Regions from separate parts of the Homo sapiens genome. Here region 1 is linked to region 2. Evidence: promoter capture Hi-C in human tissues and cell types (Jung and others, 2019). All regions are on one chromosome and are shown on one strand. Each heading gives the region's core, a stretch centred on a gene start or on the middle of the fragment in contact. The rest is flanking DNA. Distances are from core to core; before and after follow the strand shown.

Evidence for each region. The method cuts DNA at HindIII sites, captures the fragments that hold promoters and counts their contacts. A contact is called where the count stands out against the background at its distance.
Region 1: a contact is called between a fragment that was not itself captured here and the fragment with the promoter of OTOG in region 2, in 4 of the 25 tissues and cell types used here (bladder, mesendoderm cells, ovary and 1 more).

The regions. Positions count from the first base shown.
Region 1 is chr11:17,399,529-17,403,910 of GRCh38, reverse strand. It overlaps ABCC8 (ATP binding cassette subfamily C member 8), which reads left to right. Exons shown (of 39, transcript NM_000352.6): 29 at 1,158-1,250. Among named protein-coding and RNA genes, the nearest start is that of KCNJ11, 13 kb to the right of the region's middle. The HindIII fragment of the contact is 5,275 bases long and covers 1-4,048 here.
Region 2 is chr11:17,545,229-17,549,842 of GRCh38, reverse strand. It overlaps OTOG (otogelin), which reads right to left and starts at 2,584. Exons shown (of 56, transcript NM_001292063.2): 1 at 2,377-2,584; 2 at 1,856-1,916; 3 at 1,631-1,691. The coding sequence starts at 2,470. The HindIII fragment of the contact is 5,491 bases long and covers 1-4,614 here.

The sequences.
Region 1 (4,382 bases), core at 162-2,661, 140 kb after region 2:
AATTGTAGGAAAAAATTTAAAGAACGTCTAGGCCAGTGTTTCTCAAACTGCCAATTACAGCCCATCAGTGGGTCATGAAATCAATATCATGGATCACAACCAGCATTTTTTTAAAAATGAAAAAAACATCAGACTGTATTCATAGAGTAAAGCAAGCTTTGCTTCATGAAACCTTTGTGTTGGTCATGGAGGTGTGTGAGTACTGATTTGTGAGATAAAATATATTTCTGACTGCAGGTTGTGGTCAGAAAGGTTAAGTACCTTTCCCAAGTGCACATAGTTGGCTAGAAACTAGAGTTGAGATACTTATTAGCAATAATAAAATTTAGATGCATTTTGGACACAATTACCTGCCCCAAAGGATCAACATTTGTATAAATGGCTTTTTGCTTGGATGATCCAGAATGGCCCGACACCCACACGAACAACATAGCTTTTTGACACTCAAAAAATTCAAAGTGCTGCACAAGCTGTTCTACAAAGTTCATTTCTTCTGCCAGAGAAACAGCCCAGTCTCTGTGGCACCCAGTCTGACCCTGGAGATGGTTTATCAGGGAAATCAACTTCCTGCATCCCAAACTGGCCTCCCTGGCACTGATGTGCTTGTCGAGGTGCAGCTTTGGGGAGCAGGAGGCAATTCTGTTGCCATGGAAACCTCTGGCCTTACCCCGAGACGAAACCTATCATTTCAGCACATCACTGGCCAGGGTCTAAAGAGCTCCTTGATGGGGTAAGCGGAAGACGGGGTTGAACGCTTTGAGTTTGGTCTTCTGTTCCTTTGGCCAGCTGTCTCAAGGTTCAGATTGTTCACCTGTAAAATGGAACTAGCACTGCCTGCCCAGCCTTAGCTCAGCTCCAGGCTGTGCAGCAGAAGTACAGGGACAGATGGCGACCTGGGGTTGACAATGCCCAGGACAGCAGTAATTGTGCCCCACATCAGGCTGTGTCTAAGCATTGTACATAAACGATCTCATTCAGTGCTCACAAAAGCTCAATGGGCTGGTGGCATTGTCTTCCCCCTTCACGGGGTAAGAAGCTGAGGCCTAGAGAGGTAAGGCCATTCACCCACACAGCGGTAGCAGGTGGAGCTAGGCTTCAGGCCCAGGCCGAGCCCTGAGCCTGCCCTCTTAACTGTTCCACTCTGTTCCCCGCCACAGGGACCTGCAGCAGCTGGATGACACCACCCAGCTTCCACTTCTCTCACACTTTGCCGAAACCGTAGAAGGACTCACCACCATCCGGGCCTTCAGGTACGAGTCCACATTCCCCCAAGGTAGGAGTGGAACAGGGGTGGGGCCAGGGGGCACAGGCCATGAGATTTGATTCTCAGGACTCCACTTGGGAAGGCCAAGGACACGTTCTCTCTCAAGCTGCCTCAGGTCCCAAGGCCCAAGGGATATCCACCAGCAGGGACAGGCCAGGTGGGCTCCCACTGAATGTTCTAGAGAGGAAAATTCCAGCTCTGTAGACAAGCCCAGGACCTCTGTGAGGCAGAGCATGAAAAGAGACAAAGCTGGGACAAGTCTTCATGTATCAACGCTAGAAAGGGCCTTAGGTGCGGGCCACCCTAAGCCCTTCTTTTATTAAGGAGCCCCTGTGTGCCAAACACTATGCTGAGTACTGTACAGGCCAATCCCACTCATTCTGCACTGCAACCCTCGGTGCTGAGAATGGTCATTTCCATTGCACAGACAAGGAAACTGAGGCACAGAGACGTTCTATAACCTCTCTGTGTAAGGTGCCACAAAGCCCAGACTTGAACCTATTTGTTCATGCAACAAACATTTACTAAGCCCCGACTATGTGCTAAGCCCCATGCCAGGCACTAAAAAGATGAGTCAAATAAGCCGCTGCCCTGCAGGCGTTTACAGCCCAGACTTTGAGCAGGCCAGGATAAATCCACGTGACAAGTATTCTGAAAAAAGCGGATTCAAGGGCTGTGGGAGCATAGAAGAGAGACAGTCCGGGAAGGTTTTTGTACCAGAGGTGTCATCAGAACTAGGACTCAAAGGAGGGGCAGGAGTTCACCAGGCTGAGGAATTCCTGAAAACTTCAGTGCCCCTGCCATCGTCTCACTACCCTGAGTGGTGATGTTGGGGTGGACAGGAGCATCTGAGGTTGCCTGGGGAATGAGGGAAGCTGTTGTTTCCCACTCCCCAAGAGTCTGTCTGATCTCCAGAGGCATCTCTCTTCCAGTCAGGCAGGCCAGAGACCCCTGACACACAAAGTTGGGCTCTTTTCTCATCTTCATCCAGAGAGTGATAATAGGTTATTTTTAGGGTGGCACAGCTGCACGAAGTATGACAGTAACCATGAGACACCAAGCACTGTGTCCAGGAGTAACCATAGGGCACAAGGACCAGCCAAGGGCCAGAGAGGCTTACATCTCCTCCCCCCAACCCCTGAAGTCCAGCTTCAGCCCTGGAGAGGTATCCAGGCCCCTCTGCCCACCCTGGAGCACCTAGGGCCAGTGGAAATCCACCTCTTAGGGATCTTGTCTAAGTAAAGAAGAGCAGAGCAAAGCTCTGCCCTGGCCTTGGCGCTGCTCCCTGGACATCCCTTGCCCCTGGACAAGCCTATGCTGTGTCTTCCACAAAGAAGCTTGCTGGGGACTGGATTATGACTCTAGAGTCTCCTCCCAGCCTCCTCTTCTCAAGCCTGAACTTCTCCCGTTCCTTCAACTTCCAGGTCCCTCGACATTACTGAGCCTAGCCTTTGCTCTAAGTTTTGGTGATTTCCCTCTCTCAATTGGTGTCTCAGAGGGCCCTGGGGTAGAGAGATGGTGACTCTTCTAGAGTGGGCCACAGCCCCTTGTGTGCAGATCCCAGCTTCCTGTAAACAGCCTCAGATCAGGCCAAACCTGTGGTCAGCCAGAGCCACTGCTACCCAGTGAGGTCTTCCACACCCTACTGACACGGTGAATGATTTTTAAATTTGAATGAAAGGCTTTTTAATCAACCCCATACACATTTAATGCATTGGCTTTAATCCAGCAGCCTGTTGAGAGCTATTAGCACTTATTGATTGCCCACTTACTGTATGCCAGGCACCGTGCTAAGTGTTGTATGTGCATTATTACATTTAATCCTCACAAGGACCACATAACATAGGTACGAATCGCCACATTCTCCAGATGCAGAAGCGAGACCCAGAGAGGCTGGGTAATCAATCCAAGGTCACACAGACTGCGGGGGCTGGCGCTGAGCTTGGAACCCAGGTTTGCCTGACCTTCTGGGCTTTCCTAAGAGATCTTATTTTTTCCCAAAAGAGTTTCAAGAGTGCCCAGCACTGGGCTCAGTGGCGGGCTCGGAGGTTGTTTTCGTTCATGTAGGAACTATCACTTCCCCATTTTTTTCATAAGAAAACTGAGTCTCAGTCCTGATACACAGCCAGGAAGTTGTGATGTTCAGGCTCCAACCTGGGTTTACATGGCTCCGAGGCTGGGGCTCTTTTCTAGTCCTCAGACACACTGTCGCACGCCTGTGGCAGAAGCTCCCATCTCACACTTGCCGACCCTCAACTCACACAGTCCTGAGACCCACATACGCTGAGCGCCTCACACTCCTATAACACGCACATGCCCTGATGCACACACATTTTCAACACGCACTTACTCTACCCTTCAGGCATGGTTTCACACTCACTGCAGACACGTCACCCTCCCACACGTCTCCACCCTGGGGGTGTGCAGTAGCATGCTCTCTCCCACCTCAGAACCTCCCTTCAGTCCCCTCAGACACATGCCCTCTCTCCACGCAGAGACAATCAAAGCTGAACTAACACCTTCCAGGGTGAAAAGCAAATGCCCAGTAAGGTACGTCTTGGGTGCCTCCGTGTCCCCTGAGTTTGGTCCTATCAAACCAGCGATGATGAGGCAGCTTTTCTTTCGTTCCTTCCTCCATCATCAAACAAGTGCTCCTGCATCTCCTCTGGGCCGGGCCTACGTCAGCAAGGTCTGAGGGAAGCGGCCAAGGAGAGTGATGACGGCAGCCCAGGTTGATCAGAGAAAGGAGGCAGGTCCATGCGCAGTAACTCAGGGAAAACATGATGAGGACCTAAGGATGAGAAAGAAGCCTCCAGAGTTCCCTGTGCAGAGAGATTCCATCAATTTCAGAGGGTCAGGGGAGTGCCATGCATTCATCCAACAAATATTTATTGATAGTGCCAGGTGCTGGGGTATATTGGTGAATAAAACATCTTCATGGAATTTGCAGTCTATTGAGGGAGATGATTATAAATAGCTAGAGAAATGCATGTACAGCAGATACTGTGGAGCAAACAGGTTGCAGACAATAATAGGGGAAACCTACTTTATAGTAAGGTAGTAGCCAGGAAGAGCCTCTCTGAGGAGGCAGCATTTAAGGCAAGCCCTGAAGGTTGAG
Region 2 (4,614 bases), core at 1,335-3,834:
CACCTTAGAGGGAGGCCATTCTAATTCCTCGTTGCTCTGAGGAGCAGCGTGAGAAACCTCCCCAGGTTGCCTGGTCCACTCACTTATGACCCTTCCCCAAGGAAAAGGCGGGATGCCTACCCTGGAAACCAGCACGGGAGGATACCCACAGGGAAATGAAGTGTTTGGAGAAGGGTCATCTCCCCCACTAAAACATGGGGATTCCTGAAGTCCTGTATGCACGGCCTGGCTCTGCCAGTAGACTTTGCTCCACCTGCTCATTGCAGGGCCCCCACAAGTCATCCACCCACCTCAATTTCCCTACCTACAAAAAAATGACTCCAATACCTTCCAACTCAAGCAGTATTTGACTGTGATTCTAAATCTTAGGGCCTGGAAGTGTGGGCAAAGAAGAAGTAAAAGATCCAGGAAATCCACATCAGAGAAGAAGCACGCCCACACCATCCCCCCTCACTCCACCTTGGGGTCTTCATGTCTATTTCCAAAGGGCAGGAGTTGGGACTCATTGCTGTCATAAACGATTCTCCCCAATCTGCTGGCTCAAGGGGCTCCCCAGAGCTGACCGCTGGGGCTGGGGCAGGGGCACTTGAGCTGAGGCTCAGCTGCTTTGGGGGACCTAGCTGCAGGTGGGTGGAACTTATAGCTCATCTGTAGTTATAGAAAGAGGGAGACAAATGCGGGCCAGGATTAGAAAGTAGACCTGAGTCACCTGATCCAGAGACCAAAGAAGTTTGGCAAAGGGAGAAAACAAAACTGCCACCTCTCCCACAAACACAGAGGACCGTGGGAAGATGGGCAGTGGAATGGTCAAGACTCAAAGGATAGAGGCCGGGCTCAGTGGCTCATGCCTAATCCCAGCACTTTGGGAGGCTGACACAGAAGGATCACTTGAGGCCAGGAGTTCAAGACCAGCCTGGGCAACATAGTGAGACTCTGTCTCTACCAAAAAAATTGAAATTCAACCAGGCATGGTGGCACACACCTATAGTCCTAGCTACTCAGGTAACGGAGGCACCAGGATCACTTGAGCCCAGGAAGTTGAGGCTGCAGTGAACTATGATTATGCGACTGCACTCCAGCCTGTGTCACAGAGCAAGACCCCGACTCAAAAAAAGAAAAAAAAAGGCTCAAAGGATGAGTTCAGGGCTCTGCTTCTCAACCAAACCTTCCTTGCAACTTCCACCAGGTGGCCTAGTTTTTGTCTTGCCTGCATTCTTGAGGCTCCGCTCAGGGTATGGAGAGGAGCCTCTGACAGGGTTGAGGGCCTTCGCAGGCCAGTCAGGGAAAAGAGAACTCCATTCTTCTAAACGTCCATCTTTCTACTTTTACCTGCCAGAAGGGAGAGCTCAGCTCTCTCCTGAAAGAGCCCTGGTGCCCACCTCTCCTAAAAAAAAAAAAAAAAAAAAAAAAAAAAAAAAAAAAAAGAGTGGACTATAGACCCCCAAGAGATTAAAAAGAATAGAAGGGTTTTATGAACTTGCACACCTCAGACACATACCAGGAATCTGCTTGTTCCTTTCTGAACAACTCCAGAGACCCCTCCTGTAACCTACAGAGCTCCCTGCCAGCCTCAGATCCAGATAGACATGAGCTCCTGCTCAATGAAGCCCCCTCCCAAGACCTCCCTTACCTGGCCTCCCACGACTGTAGCCTTGTCCCCCATGGCAAGGGTCGCCTCCTGGTGGCTGCTGCTGGAGGAAACACGAGTCTGGCATGGATGGGGGGCTAGGATGGGTTATGCCTCCCCGCAGTCCCCTGGCCTATCCCACCCTAAGTGCTAAAGCCCTGGGGTCGCTGATGCCAGAAATACGGATGGGAGCTGTGGGTGGGGCCGCCACAGCTCACACCTACTCACCTGGGTTGCCCGGCTGGCTCTGGCTGTGGCTCTGCACTGCCCCACAGAACGGGTGCTGCGGCTGGGGAGGGGGATTATTCTCCACTCAAATTGTGCTTGTCTTTACTGGGGCCTCCCACCACCTGGCCCCCACTGCTAGAAAGCCTCTCCCACGCCACTGAGCATTCCCCCATTCTCCCTCCCTGCAGCCTTCTCAAATCCTTTCTCTCCCTTCCTGATGACCCTTCTCCAGCCAGGATCTCCCTGTTTACTCTCAGTCTTTGGCCCCCAGCTCTCTCTAGTTCCCCACCTCGGGTCTCTTCCACCCAGCCTAACTTTGGACTCTTTCCCCCGCGGTCATAGGCCTGCCTCTGTTGGCTTCGGGGTCCCTCCTCCCCTGACTGCTCCTCCTGGGTGTCCCTCTGCTCTCCCTCAAACCTCTCTTTCCTCCCTCTCTCCAACCTGCGCGGGCCCATTCCTCATTCCTTTAACGTTTCTCATTCCTCGAGCCCCCGACCTCCCTGAGTCCACAACCCTCTCACCGAGGCGCTGCACCCGCAGGGACTCGGCTGCCTGCTCACCCCAGGGCAGCCAGACACAAAGCAGCCAGCAGAGCGCAGACGCCAGGACTCCCATAGGGACACGAGGGGACCGGAGGACTTGAGCGCAGGGCCAGCCTCCCGAGGTGCCTCCCCGGGCTAAGGCAGGGTCACACCTCCACTCCGCAGCCGAGGTCCCTCTTGTTCTCATGCCCCAGGGCTCCCTCAGCCCCTCCTCCCAGGCTCTCAGCTCCTCCCCGAACTAGAGTGACAGGAGTACCCAGCTTATTACCATAATTTAGGCGCCTGTCCATAGCCTAGCCTCTGCTTTTCTTGGCCTGTGGCCACACCTCCCCAGGGGAGGCTGGATTCAGATTACTCAGCCCTAAATTGTCTAGGGAAGCATAGAGGCAGCCTATGCAACCTCCAGCTCCCCTTACCTGGGTCCTGGAAGCCCAATACCAGAGACGCAAGATGCAGGTATGAGTCTGGCCCTATCCTCTCCTTTTACAGAGGGCCATGCTGAGGCCCTGGGACATGCCACTCAGGGATCAGTGGTCAATAACAGAGCCTGCAGAGTCCTAGCCTATGTTCTCACCATGCCCCACCTCAGCTTCCACCTGGGTCTCCACATCCGTATCCTATGACCAGTTTTGAGCACCTCTAGGGAATGGATCATGCCTTAGTCCTCTGAATGCCCAGCACCAGCTCCTGCCCGAGCTCAGGAAATGACGATTGAATAATAAAAGTGTTTCATACTCCTATGTTATTGCCACCATCAAGGCCAAACTTTGACAAAACAACTTTATATGTGTGAACGAGGTCCACTGTCTGCCCAGGAGGAATTTTAAAATGGCAAAAACATGGGACTGAGCACCTGGGGAATCTGTACATCATTCACTTCGTCATCACTTAGGGAACACCAACTAGATGCTAGGTCTTACAGAGGATGATGATGATGGTGGTGGTGGTGGTCGTGGTGGTATTGGCCCCAGTAGACTTCTAGGCAAGGGTATAGATTTGAGATGCATTCATTCATTCATTCATTCATTCATTCACTCAACAAATTTGTTTGGCATTGATTCCATGCCATGCACTGTTCTAGGCATATAGTGGTAAATAAAGCAAACACAGCTATCTTCACACAGGAGGAAGCTGGGGGCACAGATAGGAAGATGAAGAGGAAAGAGCTAAGGATGGAGCCTTAAGGAATGCTGGTTAAGGAACAGGCAAAGACTGATTGTCTCCAAGGAAGCTTGAAACAAAAATTCATGAGAGAGGAGAACCAGGTCTCAATGCTATTCTCAAAACAAAGCAGGGGGCATTTTAAGGTGGAGGGAGTCTGTGGGGGTAATGGCCAATGTAAAATAAGGATTGGTGTGGCAGGTGAACAGCATTCCCCTGGATAAGGACATTCATTCACCTCTGCCAGGATTCTAAATACAAAATAAACAGCCATATGACATTCTTTTCCAATGTAGAGAATCAATGAAGTAAGTCGGAGGGGAATGCATTTTGTGTGGCCTTTTCTGGACCATTCAAAAATCCCACAAGTCTTTCCATTTTATCGCTGACTTAATAGTTAATGCTAAGGTGAGAAAACAGATCATATTTTAAGGTTCTTCTCCAAGAGGGATTTACATCTTAAACTAGGCAACAAAAATAGTGTGCTTGTAAAACTTCAGCTATTGGGGAGAGGGACGCAGAGGGGTGTTTAGGTGCCCCAGAGTTACAATTGTAAGTGGTTACCTGATGTAAGCTGCTGTCCATCTCCTTGCCCCTGCCCTTGACAGGGCACAAAGGGCTCAGGTGCCTCCCTGGGTTAAGTTCAGGCACAAGCCCCATACTTAGCCTCTGATTTACACATTTTTATCACCCCTCTCCTAGCCCCTCTTTCCTTTCATCTCTTTCCAGGCCTGGTTCATCATTGTCTTTGATGAATCTTTCCTTTCATTCCTTTCCAGGCCTGGTTCATCATTGTCTTTGCACCAAGCACTAGACCTAGGAGTTAAGCAAATGCTGACCAAATTGAATTAAATGAACCAGAGGGTCTGGGCCCTGGGTGAAGGTCAGCCATAGATCAAAATGTCACTGCCAGGCTCTGCCAGGCTTCGATGGATATGTGAGTGTGTTGGGTTTGGGTTTTGTTTTGTCTTGTTTTGTTGGGGGTGGAGGTGTTAGGGAAGGTGGGAGGGGAAATCAGTTGAGGGGGGCACTCTCACACACACTGATTCAGACCCC